Linked DNA regions of Homo sapiens: region 2 is linked to region 1. The links are contacts of gene promoters, found by promoter capture Hi-C in human tissues and cell types (Jung and others, 2019). All regions are on one chromosome and are shown on one strand. Each heading gives the region's core, a stretch centred on a gene start or on the middle of the fragment in contact. The rest is flanking DNA. Distances are from core to core; before and after follow the strand shown.

The links. The method cuts DNA at HindIII sites, captures the fragments that hold promoters and counts their contacts. A contact is called where the count stands out against the background at its distance.
Region 2: a contact is called between a fragment that was not itself captured here and the fragment with the promoter of ADH1A in region 1, in 1 of the 25 tissues and cell types used here (stomach).

The regions. Positions count from the first base shown.
Region 1 is chr4:99,288,660-99,295,609 of GRCh38, forward strand. ADH1A (alcohol dehydrogenase 1A (class I), alpha polypeptide) reads right to left here and starts at 2,326. Exons shown (of 9, transcript NM_000667.4): 1 at 2,238-2,326. The coding sequence starts at 2,255. It overlaps LOC100507053 (a long non-coding RNA gene), which reads left to right. Exons shown (of 10, transcript NR_037884.1): 6 at 7-126; 7 at 2,278-2,289. RefSeq lists a promoter at 2,272-3,488. The HindIII fragment of the contact is 12,505 bases long and covers 1-3,115 here.
Region 2 is chr4:99,240,814-99,247,841 of GRCh38, forward strand. The region is part of intron 4 of LOC100507053 (a long non-coding RNA gene); the gene reads left to right. Among named protein-coding and RNA genes, the nearest start is that of ADH6, 25 kb to the left of the region's middle. The HindIII fragment of the contact is 5,924 bases long and covers 1-5,617 here.

The DNA of each region.
Region 1 (6,950 bases), core at 1,076-3,575:
TTGCAGGATGTTCAACATGATCAATGCCAAATAAATATCAGAATACTTGGAAGTAAAGTACTAATAGTAGGAGTTCCTGATTATCAGGTGCCTATGATGTGACAGGCACATTGTGGCCTGTGCTCGGTGAGTTATTTGCATTATATTTATTTATAAAATTTATTTTTAATTTCAATAGTTTTTGGGGTGCAGGTGTTTTCTGGTTACCTGGGTAAGTTCTTTAGTGGTGATTTCTGAGATTTTGGTGCACCCTTCACTCAAGCAGTGTACATTGCACCCAATATGTAGTCTTTTATCCCTCACCTCCCCTTTCAACCTTCCCCCTCGAGTTCCCAAAGTTCATGATATCATTCTCATGCCTTTGCATCCTCATAGCCTAACTCTCTCTTATAAATGAGAACATATGATGTTTGGTTCTCCATTTCTGAATTACTTAGAATAATGGTCTCCAGCTCCATCCAAGTTGCTGCAAAGGCCATTATTTTATTTTATTCTGTTTAATGGCTGAGTAGTATTCCATGGTATATGCACACCATATTTTCTTTATCTACTCGTTTGTCGATGGGCATTTAGGTCAGTTCTGTATTTTGTAATTGCAAATTGTGCTGCTATAAACAACATGCATTATTTTAAAATCTCATAAGGATGCTACCAGGACAGTACTATTGAATTATTGGCTTTATTTTACAGCTGAAATAATTGAGGATCCATTGACTCAGTGATTAACTAATTTCTCTAAAGTCTCAAAGCTGGCTTTCCAGAGAATAAAGATGAATCTAGCCTTATGTTTTCACTACTCGGTGTCAGTAAAAAGTTAGCAAAAAGTTAAATAGCAACAATAATAATAGTGGCTAATAGTTATTGACTTATTTCTACATCCCAAATACAATTTTAAGTTCTTTATAGTATTCATTTATTGAATTATCACAACACAACTACTTTATGAAATAGATGTTAGTATTGTCACTATTTAGCATTTGAGGAAAATATAATGCAGGATGTATAAACATAAATGAAATGCTGACAACAAACTAAGTTATTGATGTTGTGCCCAAGAGGGGAGGCAATTGTCTATTTCATCAGTTATTATTTTCATTAATATGATTGGTTTATACTTTTGCTGTAGGAACTCATTATTTCTTTTAAGTTGAGTTTGGTAAATTTAATTTTTTTGCTAATTGTTTTCTATGTGGAATGTACATATTAATCAGTAATGAATGAAAGTAAAGTGAGGTGGAATAAGAACAGTAACAATGGGCCACCCATGTGATTTCCAACCAGTCTTATTGATATGAACCTGTTTTGTCACAGAGTGTATAGAGAAGCCTCAGAGCCTTTAAACTGAGTTATCATAGTGAGATATTTTACTGTGTAATACACTCCTAACACAAAAAAGGACTGGAAATAGTTGCACAAATTTTTGTAATTAGGCAATTAAAATATCAATTGATTATATTGTATTACCACATGTATTTTTGTGCACCTATAAACACATTGAACAATTAAGATATTTATGGAAGGCAAAACCAAATATCTGTGTTCCTAGTGCTAATAAGTGATTCAAATTGTATTATTAATTTTCTGTAAAACCATATTGACTTTTATATGGGGAAGATACTGTTCCATAGGATTACTCTGGAAATTGCCTGAATTGTGTCCTACTAGACCCTTTTAAATCAGAATTTGAATGTTGATGTTGTCTTGATTAACCTTGATGATTCTAATGCTGTGAGACCAATGAGCATTTTGTAAACTATTTTATGTTAAGGTTAAAAGGGTATTTCAAAGTCTTCTAAATCAAATCCTCTCATAAAACTTTCATCAGACTTAACTTTCTTGTATTCACAAAAAATATAAATACAAATAGTAATACATTTAAATTATGGTACCTTAATATAAAGAAAACTTCTTGATGAAAGACATTTCTAACTTTGGCTTTACAAATTAATCATGATTAGCTTGGAATAAATTATCGCTTTACCGCAAATGTCTTTAATGTGGGAAATAAACACTTCATAGATACAGATTCTATACATTCTTTTTGAAGGTATTTAGGAATAGCTTATTTCCACTGTAGTTCAGTATACATTACATATTATAGCATATATTGCATATCATATTTCAGTGTATCATTTCTAATTTAGATATGAATTTTAAATGATTCATCAAATACTGTATTACTTTCTTTGTTATATTGATGAGAATATAGTTCCAACAGTAATATATTTTTTGCTTACTTTTCCTGCTGTGCTCATGTTGATTCTGTCTTCTCTGCAGACCAGGAGACTGGTGAGTCCTTGTGGATTTCTTCCCTGCTCAAGTGCATAAAGCAGGTGTATTGCATAGGTATTTATTTATTTTTTTTGCTTGAATAACACCCGATTCCAGTTCCACACATGATCTAGGTCTTTAAGCCACACCCATTAGATTATTCACAGACTGTCAAATCATAAAGAAGAGGGCAATGAACCAGCAATCAATACATTGATTTTTCCAATTTCAAATAAGATTTTGTTTTCATTAGGTTAAATATTAAGTTAAAGTGATAAAGCTTAATCATTTTCTCTTCTCCTCACTTTATTCCTCATCTGTCAAATTTCTTGTTTCTCCTCTCTTAGTCCCACAGTGGTCATTCAAAGTTCTGTTTTCCCTTTATCTGCATTAAGCTCCAGCTTTGAATCCAAACGGTGCAGTTAGGAAGGAGGAAGAGCAAAGAAGCCGGGCAAATAAAGATGACAGCCAGGAGCCAGAGGAATGTGTTTGGCTCAGGACTCCCCTTCTCTTCATAGAGAATCAGATACTCAATCACAGCAAAGGTGCTCACCCTGCTAAGCATTTTTGCTCCACCTCAAACCAATCAGCATTGACTGAGCCCCTCTGTGTGTCAGGCACTAAGCTGGGTCCAGTGGATGGCAGTGATAAATAAGACATTACCTCTATCTGTACCAGAGGCAGTATGGGGCAAAGGTGATGGCATGCTTTTTGGGACCTGGCAGACCCTATTCCTTACTAGCTCTGTGTACTGGCACTTATTATTTCACTTTTTTTTTTGCCTTAGTTTGTTTACCTGTAAGATGAAGAAGAATAATACCATTTTAAATGACTGTTTAGTGAATATAGCACCATTTTAAAGGACTGTTTAGTGAATATAGCACCATTTTAAAGGACTGTTTAGTGAATAAATGATATAATCTATGTAAAGCACTCATCATAGAGTTTAACAGGTAGGAGCACCCTACTAAATGCTAGCTACAATTATTATTCATAAAAGGAAGCTCACAGTCTATGGGGAAAAGATACACAGGCAGCCAAGTCTACATATCAGCCTGGCTGGGAAGTGCGCTATCACAGGGATCAGTTAGTGCTTTGGGGACAGAGACAGAGGTACTATTCAGAATGAAGGCCTCAGGGGAGGCATTATAGATGAACAGGTATTTGAGGTAGATTTTAAATAATTGTGGGAAATTCAGACAAATCCTCACTGGATCATTTCTATTGCCCTTTGATCAATGTAACTAGTCTACACATGGCTGTCCAAGATTATGAGTTTAATTTTTCTTTTATCCACACTTGGAGGCATTGCACAGGCAGCTGTTTAATCAGATGCAGTCTGTCAACATGAACATGTCAACATAAAGGACATATCTCTCTAGAATTGTAAAGGGAACATTTCAGTAAGCTTTAACTACGTAGGCACTGAGACTCACACCAAGACTGAGAAACATTCACCCAATAGAGAAGCAAGGAAGGTCCTACGATTTCAGTTGCTTCTGAAATGTATCAAGGTAAGAATATAGCCCCAGATCTGATGTTCAGCATTCAAGGCTTCGTAATATGGCTTCAACCTTCTCATCTATCTACTCCTCCCCATTCTCCAATACAGGGCGTATGTGCTTTAGAAGCTTGTATCTCCCTGGTCCCCCAAAGAGGAATCTATTTAACATTCAAGCCCTTGCTCATCATGCTCTTTCTCTTCTTTTCTGTCCCTCTGGCCCATTCAAATCCTACCCAAAATTTGAGATGCAGGACAAGGTCACCCTCGTGGAGGTATATTAACTCCATCTCACTGTTGTGCTTTATGTCTCTGCATCCCTGTCATGCTAGCATCTCTCCTGTGGTTTTGGGTCTGTTCCCTTTTGTCGCCCTCTATATTTAGTGTAGAGATCAGTCTCCTAATTTCTACTGGAAATTTCTAGTCAGGGATGTTCTTAAATTTCATTTATATCATCAACTATACCTAGCTCCATGTATACTGTAGGTGTTTAATGAGTGATTGTTGAATTCTTATGCTCATTTATGTTAGGACAGGCACTGTTCTATGAGCAGTCCCATAATCCAGAAGATCCGATGTCTCCTCTTTAAGGGTTTACAGATTAGCAGTGGGATTGGCTGTGGTCAGGTAGACAAGACAGAGAACCCTCCTGTGAAGCAGGAAGTGGTCGTGCCAGGAGAAGAGTTCAACGTGGAATTCAAAGGAGGAAGATCCTACTCCATCTTTTCATTATGGATTCTCAGCTCTTAACTCAATGTCTGGCACAGAGTGAGTGCTCAGATATTTGTTGATTAAATTAAAGAAATGACTTCTACTTTTAGGGTGAGGAAACCTTGAAAGAAAGGTATTTTATTAAGATGTATCAAGAAAAGTGGGTCATCAGGAGGCAAAATGGAGGAGGATAGGAGGCAGGACTAACTTGCACCTGCTACTTGGATGAACAGAGCAGTTCATGGAGACCCACATTGTGAACTTTTGCTCCAAGAACTACTGCAGGGACATACCAGGAAAGCAGAGAGAATCCACAGACCCTTTGAAGGCGGTGGACTGCTGCTCCAGCCTCTGTGGGACAGCAGAAGAAACGTGAGCCAGCTTGCTTTCTCAGTTGCGGGGCTTATAGCCTGGGGCAATTTCTCAGCTCTGCTCACCAGCTGACTGGAAGGAAATAAACACATTTTTGTTGAGGGCTCATGGTGGGAGTGAGACCGGCCCTCAGACTCTGGGCTGCATGGGAGCTGTGTGAGGCCTGTGGCTGCCAGCTTTCCCCCACTCCCCTGATGACCTGTGTGACACGGCAGAGACAGCTGTAATCCCACTGGGAACATAACTCCATTGGCCTGGGAACTACACCCTCATCTCCCAAATCAGCCACAGCAAGCCCTGACCAAGGAGAGTCTAAGCTCAGACATGTCTAGCCCTGCCCCTAGTTGATGGTCTTTCTCTACCCAGCCTGGTAGCTGAAGAAAAGGACATAATCTATTGGGGGTGCTATGGTCCTGCCCACGACCTGATCCTCCCTAGACTACCGTAGCTGAGGTGCTCTTGAAATCGTCACCTCCTGGCTGGAGGCCAACGAACACAAAACCAGCACGCTTAACAAAAATACATCCAAGGACCCTCACAGAATCCACTCCACTCTCCTGCTACCTCCACTGGAGAAGGTGCTGGTATCCATGGCCAAGAAACCTGAAGATGGATCACATCACAGGACTCTGAATACACTCCCCAGTACCAGTCCAAAGCCAGGTAGCTCCACTGGGTTGCTAGATCTAGAAGAGAAAAAGCAATAACTACAGTTCAGCTCTCAGGAAGCTCCATCTCTTGGGAAAAGGGGAGAGCACCACATCAAGGGAGCATCCTATAGGACAAAAGAATTTGAACAGCAGCCCTTGAGTCCTAGATCTTCCCTCTGATGTAATCTACCTAAATGAGAAGAAACCAGAAAAACAATTCTGGTAATATGACAAAATAAGATTCTTCAACACCCCCAAAAGATCCCGCTAGATTACCAGCCGTGGATCCAAACCAAGATGAAATCTCTGAATTGCCATAAAAAGAAATCAGAAGGTTGATTATCAAACCAATCAAGGAGGCACCAGAGAAAGGTGAAGTCCAACTTATAGTAATCAAAAAAACAATACAGGGTGTGAATGAGAAAATATCTAGTGAAATAGATAACATAAGAGAAAAACAATCAAAACTTCTGAAAACGAAGGACAGAGAGAATTGCAAAATGCATTGGAAAGTCTCAGCAATAGAGTCAAACAAGTAGAAAAAAGAACTTCTAAAAAACAAGGCTTTTAAATTAACACAATTAAACAAATACAAAGAAAAAAGAATATTTAAAAAAGGACAAAGCCTGCATGAAATTTGTGATTATGTTAAATGACCAAACCTCAGAATAATTGGTGTTACTGGAGAAGAAGAGAAATCTAAAAGTTGCAAAACATATTTGAGGGAATAAACAAGAGAAACGTCCCTGGCCTTGCTAGAGACCTAGATATCCAAATATCAGAAGCTCAAAGAACACCTGAGAAATTCATCACAAAAAGATCACCGCCTAGGCACATAGTCATCAGGTTATCTAAAGTCAAGACAAAGGGAAGAATCGTAAGAGCCGTGAGGCAAAAGCATCAAGTAACCTATGAAGGAAAACCTGTCAGATTAACAGCAGATTTCTCAGCAGAAACCCTACAAGCTAGAAGGGATTGGGGTCCTTTCTTTAGTCTCCTTAAACAAAACAATTACCAGCCAAGAATTTTGTGTCCAGCAAAACTAAGCTTCATAAATGAAGGAAAGTTACAGTCTTTTTCAGACAAATGCTGAGAGAATTCATCATTATTAAGCCAGCACTAAAAGAACTGCTAAAAGGAGCTCCAAATCTTGAAACAAATCCTGGAAACACATTAAAACAGAACCTCTTTAAAGCATAAATCTTACAGGACCTATACAACAACAACACAATGAAAAAAAAAACAAAGTATACAGGCAACAATGGCACGATGAATAGAATTGCGCCTCACATCTGAATACTAACGTTGAATGTAAATGGCCTAAATACTCCACTTAAAATATATAGAATGGCAGAATGGATAAGAATTCACCAACAAAGTACCTACTGTCTTCAAGAGACTCACCTGACACATAAGGACTCACATAAACTTAAGGTAAAGGGGTG
Region 2 (7,028 bases), core at 1,406-3,905, 48 kb before region 1:
GTGTTGCAAGCTATGCATTTATACCTTTTTATTTATTTTAAAATGTGCAATCAAATTATTATTGACTATAGTCACCCTGTTGGGCTATCAAATACTAGGTCTTATTCTTTCTAACTACTTTTTTTGTACCGATTAACACTTGCCAGCTTCCCTCCCACCTCTGTACTCCCTTTGCCAGCCTCTGATAACCATCCTTCTATTCTCTTTCTCCATAAGTTCAATTGTTTTGATTTTCAGATTCCACAAATAAATGAGAACATGTAAAGTTTCTCTTTCTGTGCCTGGCTTATATCAGTTAGCATAAGGACCTCCAGTTCCATCCATGTTGCTGCAAATGACAGGATATCATTCCTTTTTTTATGGCTGAATAGTACTCCATTGTGTATAAGTACCATATTTTCTTTTTTCAGTCATCTGTTCATGGACACTTAGGTTGCCACCAAATTTTTGCTATTGTGAACAGTGCTGCAACAAACATGGGAGTGCAGATATTTCTTTGATTCACTCATTTCCTTTCTTTTGTGTATATACCCAGCAGTGGGATTGCTGGATTATGTGGTAGCTCTATTTTTGGTTTTTTGAGGAACCTCCAAATTGTTCTCTGTAGTGGTTGTACTAATTTACACTCCCATCAATAGTGTATGAAGTTTCCCTTTTTTCACATTCTTGCCAGCATTTGTTATTGCCTGTCTTTTGGATATAAGCCAACTTAACTGGGGTGATATAATATCTCATTGTAGCTTTGATTTGCCTTTCTTTGATGATCAATGATGTTGAGAACCTTTACATATGCCTGTTTACCATTTGTATATCTTCCTTTGAGAAATGTTTATTAAAATAGTTTGCCCATTTTTAAATTGGATAATTAGAGTTTTTTTCCTATAGGGTTGTTTGAGCTCCTTATATATTTTGGTTATTAATTCATTGTCAGATGGGTAGTTTGCAAATATTTTCTCCCATTCTGTGGGTTGTCTCTTCACTTTGTTGACTGTTTGTTTTACTATACAGAAGCTCTTGAACTTCATGTGATCTCATTTGTCCATGTTTGCTTTGGTTGTCTGTGCTTGTAGGGTATTAATAAGGAAATTTTTGCCCAGACCAATGTGCCAGAGAGTTTCCACAATGTTTTCTTTTAGTAGTTTAATAGTTTGAGGTCTTAGATTTAAGTCATTAATCCATTTTGATTTGATTTTTGTATATGATGAGAGACAGAGGTCAAGCTTCATTCTTCTGCTTATGGATATACAGTTATCCTAACACCATGTATTGAAGAGATCTTTTTTTATACTCTATTTTTTTGCTAATAACAGTCACCATTTATTGAACAGTTACCGTTTACTTGTTCATATGAATTTTCTCATGACTTTGAAATGCTTTCTAATCATAATTGTAAATGGCTACTTTTAGTACTCTATCTTTTTTTATTATACTTTAAGTTCTGGCATACATGTGCAGAACATGCAGGTTTGTTACATAGGTATACACGTTCCATGGTGGTTTGCTGCACCCATCAACCTGTCATCTACATTAAGTATTTCTCTTAATGCTATTCTTCCCCTTGCCCTTCACTCCCCAACGGGCCCTGGTGTGTGATGTTCCCCTCCCTTTGTCCATGTAGTTCTCATTCTTCAACTACCAATTATGAGTGAGAACATGTGGTGTTTGGTTTTCTGTTCCTGTGTTAGTTTGCTGAGAATGATGGTTTCCAGCTTCACACATGTCCCTGCAAAGGACGTGAACTCATTTTTTTATGGCTGCATAGTATTCCATGGTGTATATGTGCCACATTTTCTTTATCCCGTCTATCATTGATGGGCATTTGGGTTGGTTCCAAGTCTTTGCTATTGTGAATAGTACTGCAATAAACATATGTGTGAATGTGTCTTTATAGTAGAATGGTTTGTAATCCTTTGGATAGATACCCAGTAATGGGATTGCTGGCTGAAATGATATTTCTGGTCCTAGATCCTTGAGGGATTGCCACACGGTCTTCTGCAATGTTTGAACTAATTTACACTCCCACCAACAGCATAAAATCATTCCTATTTCTCCACATTCTCACCAGCATCTGTTGTTTGCTGACTTTTTAATGATTGCCATTCTAACTGGTGTGAGATGGTAATTTGCTGTGGTTTTGACTTGCATTTCTCTAATGACCAGTGATGATGAGCTTTTTTTCATGTTTTTTGGCTGCATAAATGTATTCTTTTGAGAAGTGTCTGTTCATATCCTTTGCCTACTTTTTGATGGGGTTGTTTGTTTTTTTTTCTTGTAAATTTGTTTAAGTTCCTTGTAGATTCTGAATATTAGACCTTTGTCAGATGGATAGATTGCAAAATTTTCTCCCATTCTGTAGGTTGCCTGTTCATTCTGATAATAGTTTCTTTGCTGTGAAGAAGCTCTTTAGTTTAATTAGATCCCATTAGTCAATGTTGGCTTTTGTTGCAATTGTTTTTGGTGTTTTAGTCATGAAGTCTTTGCCCATGCCTATGTCCTGAATGGTATTGCCTAGGTTTTCTTCTAAGGTTTTTATGGTTTTAGGTTTTACATTTAAGTATTAAATTCATCTCAAGTTAATTTTTGTATAAGGTGTAAGTAAGGGGTCCAGTTTCAGTTTTCTGCATATGGCTAGCCAGTTTTTTCAGCACCCTTTATTAAATAGGGAATCCTTTCCCCATTGCTTGTTTTTGTCAGGTTTGTTGATGATCAGATGGTTGTAGATGTGTGGTGTTATTTCTGAGGTCTCTTTTCTGTTCCATTGGTCTATATGTCTGTTTTGGTACCAGTACCATGCTGTTTTGGTTGCTGTAGCCTTGTAGTATAGTTCGAAGTCAGGTAGCATGATGCCTCCAGCTTTGTTCTTTGTGCTTAGGATTGTCTTGGCTATACAGACTCTTTTGTGGTTCCATATAAAATTTAAGGTAGTTTTTCTAATTCTGTGAAGAAAGTCAGTGGAGCTTGATGGGAATAGCATTGAATCTATATATTACTTTGGGCAGTATGACCATTTTCATGATATTGATTCTTCCTATCCATGAGCACAGAATGTTTTTCTATTTGTTTGTGTATTCTCCTATTTCCTTGAGCAGTGATTTGTAGTTCTCCTTGAAGAGGTTCTTCACATCCCCTTTAAGTTGTATTCATAGGTATTTTATTCTGTTTGTAGCAATTGTGAATGGGAGTTCACCCATGATTTGGCTCTTTGTTTGTCTGATATTGATGTATAGGAATGCTTGTGATTTTTGCACAATGATTTTGTATCCAGAAACTTTGCTGAAGTTGCTTATCAGCTTAAGGAGGTTTTGGGCTGAGATGATGGGGCTTTCTAAATATACAATCATGTCATCTGCAAACAGAGACAATTTGACTTCCTTTCTTCCTATTTGAATACATTTTATTTCTTTCTCTTGCCTGATTGCCCTGGCCAGAACTTCCAATACTATGTTAAATAGGAGTGGTGAGAGAGGGCATCCTTGTCCTATGCTGAATTTCAAAGGGAATGCTTCCAGCTTTTGCCCATTCAGTATGATATTGGCTGTGGGTTTGTCATAAATATCTCCTATTTTTTGAGATATATTGTGTTAATATCTAGTTTTTTGAGTGTTTTTAGCATGAAGCGGTGTTGAATTTTATCGAAAGTCTTTTCTGCATCTATTGAGATAATCATGTGGTTTTTGTCATTGGTTCTGTTTATGTGATGGATTACGTTTGTTGATTGGTGTATGTTGAACCAGACTTGCATCCCAGGGATGAAGCTGACTTGATTGTGGTAGATAAGCCTTTTGATGTGTTGCTGGATTTGGTTTGCCAGTATTTTATTGAAGATTTTCACATCGATATTCATCAGGGATATTGGCCTGATATTTTCTTTTTTTTGTTGTTGTGTTTCTGCCAGGTTTTGGTATCAGGATGATGCTGGCCTCATAAGATGAGTTATGGAGGACTCCCTCTTTTTCTATTGTTTGGAATAGTTTTAGAAGGAATGGTATAAGCTTCTCTTTGTACCTCTGGTAGAATTAGGCTGTGAATCTATCTGGACCTGGGTTTTTTTTTGGTTGGTAGAGTATTAATTCCTGCCTCAATTTCTGAAGTTGTTATTGGTCTATTCAGGGATTCAACTTCTTCCTGGTTTAGTGTTTAGGGAGTGTATGTATCCAGGAATGTATCCATTTCTTCCAGGTTTTCTAGTTTATTTGTGTGGTGGTGTTTATATATTCTCTGATGGTAGTTTCTATTTCTGTGGGATCAGTGGTGATTTTCCCTTTATCATTTTTTATCGTGTCTATTGATTCTTCTCTCTTTTCTTCTTTATTAGTCTGGCTGGTGGTCTATCTATTTTGTTGATCTTTTCAAAAAACCAACTCCTGGATTCATTGATTTTTGGAAGGGTTTTTGGTGTCTCTATCTCCTTCAATTCTGCTTTGATCTTAGTTATTTCTTGTCTTCTGCTACGTTTCGAATTTTTTTGCTCTTGCTTCTCTAGTTCTTTTAATTGTGATGATAGGGTGTCATTTTAGATCTTTCCTACTTTCTGCTGTGGGGATTTAGTGCTATAAATTTTCCTCTAAACACTGCTTTAGCTGTATCCCAGAGATTCTGGTATATTGTGTGTTTGCTCTCATTGTTTTTAAAGAACTTATTTATTTCTGCCTTAATTTCATTATTTATCCAGCAGTCATTCAGGAGCAGGTTGTTCAGTTTCCATGTAGTTGTGAGTTCTGAGTGAGTTTCTTAATCCTGAGCTCTAATTTGATTGCACTGTGATCTGAGAGACTGTTATGATTTCTGTTCATTTACATTTGCTGAGGAGTGTTTTACTTCCAATTATGTGGTCAGTTTTAGAATAAGTGCTATGAGGAGCTGAGAAAAACGTATATTTTGTTGTTTTGGGGTGGAGAGTTCTGTAGATGTCTATTAGGTTTGCTTGGTCCAGAGCTGAGTTCAAGTCTGAATATCCTTGTCAATTTTCTGTCTTGTTGATCTGTGTAATATTGATAGTGAGGTGTTAAAATCTCCCAATATTATTGTGTGGGAGTCTAAGTCTCTTTGTAGGTTTGTAAGAACTTGTTTTATGAAACTGGGTGCTCTTATATTGGGTGCATATATATTTAGGATAGTTAGCTCTTCTTGTTGCATTGATCCGTTTACCATTATGTAATGGCCTTCTTTGTCTTTTTTGATCTTTCTTGTTTTAAAGTCTGTCTTATCGGAGACTAGGATGGCAACCCATGCCTTTTTTGTTTGCTTTCCATTTGCTTGGTAAGTTGTCCTCCATCCCTTTGTTTTGAGCCTATGTCTGTGTTTGCACATGAGATAGGTCTCCTGAATACAGCACACCAATGGGTCTTCACTCTTTATCCAATTTGCCAGTCTGTGTCTTTGAACTGGGAGCATTTAACCTATTTACATTTAAGGTTAATATTATTATGTGTGAGTTTGATCCTGTCATCATGATTCTAGCTGGTTATTTTCCACATTAGTTCATGCAGTTTTGTTCATCTTTATATTTTGGTATGTTTTTACAGTGGCTGGTACCAGTTTTTCCTTTCTATATTTAGTGCTTTCTTCAGGAGTTCTCGTAAGGCAGGCCTGGTGGTGACAAAACCCCTCAGCATTTTCTTGTCTGTAAAGGATTTTATTTTCTTTTGCTTATGAAACTTATTTTGGCTGGATATGAAATTGTGGGTTGAAAATTGTTTTCTTTAAGAATGTTGAATATTGTCCCCCACTCTCTTCTGGCTTCTGCAGAGAGATCTGCTGTTAGTCTGATGGGCTTCCCTTTGTGGGTAACCTGACCTTTCTCTCTGGCTGCCCTTAACATTTTTTCCTTCATTTCAACCTTGGAGAGTCTGATGATTATGTGTCTTGGGGTTGCTCTTCTCGAGGAGTATCTTAGTGGTGTTCTCTGTGTTTCCTGAATTTGAATGTTGGCCAGTCTTGCTAGGTTGGGGAAGTTCTCCTGGATAATATCCTGAAGTGTGTTTTTCAACGTGGTTCCATGCTCCCCTTCACTTTCAGGTGTACCAATCTGTCATAGGTTTGGTCTTTTCACATAGTCCCATATTTCTTGGAGGATTTGTTATTTCCTTTTCCTTCTTTTTTTTTCTCTAATCTTGTCTTCATGCTTTATTTCATTAAGTTGATCTTCAATCTCTGATATCCTTTTTTCTGCTTGATTGATTCAGCTATTGATACTTGTGTATGCTTCACGAAGTTCTCATGCTGTGTTTTTCAGCTCTATTAGGTCATTTCTGTTCTTCTCTAAACTGGTTATTCTAGTGTGCAGTTCCCGTAACCTTTTATCCAGGTTCTTACCTTCCTTTCTTTGGGGCAGAACATGCTTATTTAGCTTGGAGGCGTTTGTTATTACCTACTTTCTGTAGTGTACTTCTGTTCAATTCATCAAACTCATTTTCCATCCAGTTTTGTTCCCTTTCTGGTGAGGAGTTGTGGTCCTTTGGAGGAGAAGAGGCATTCTGGTTTTTGAAATTTTCAGCATTTTTGTGCTTTTTTCCCCTCAGCTTTGTGGATTTATGTACCTTTGATCTTTGATGCTGAGGCACTTTGGATGGGGTTTTTCTGTGGGCATACTTTTCTTTTGATGCTGATGTTTTTGTTTTCTCTTTGTTAGTTTTCCTTCTGTCAGGCCTCTCTGGTGCAGGTCTGCTGGAGTTTGCTGGAGGTCCACTTTAGACACTGTTTGCCTGGATATCACCAGTGGAGGCTGCAGAACAGCAAAGATTGCTGCTTGCTCCTTCCTCTGGAAGATTTGTCCCAGAAGGACACCCACCAGATGCCAGCTGGAGCTCTCCTGTATGAGATGTCTGTCGGCCCCTGCTGGGAGGTGTCTCCTAGTTAGGAGGCACGGGGGTCAGGGACCCATTTAAGGAGTCAGTCTGTTCCTTAGCAGAGCTTGAGCACTGTGCTGGGAGATCTGCTGCTCTCTTCAGAGCCAGTAGGCAGCAATGTTTAAGTCTGCTGAAGCTGCTCCCACAGTTGCCCCTCCCCCCAGCTGCTGTGTCCCAGAG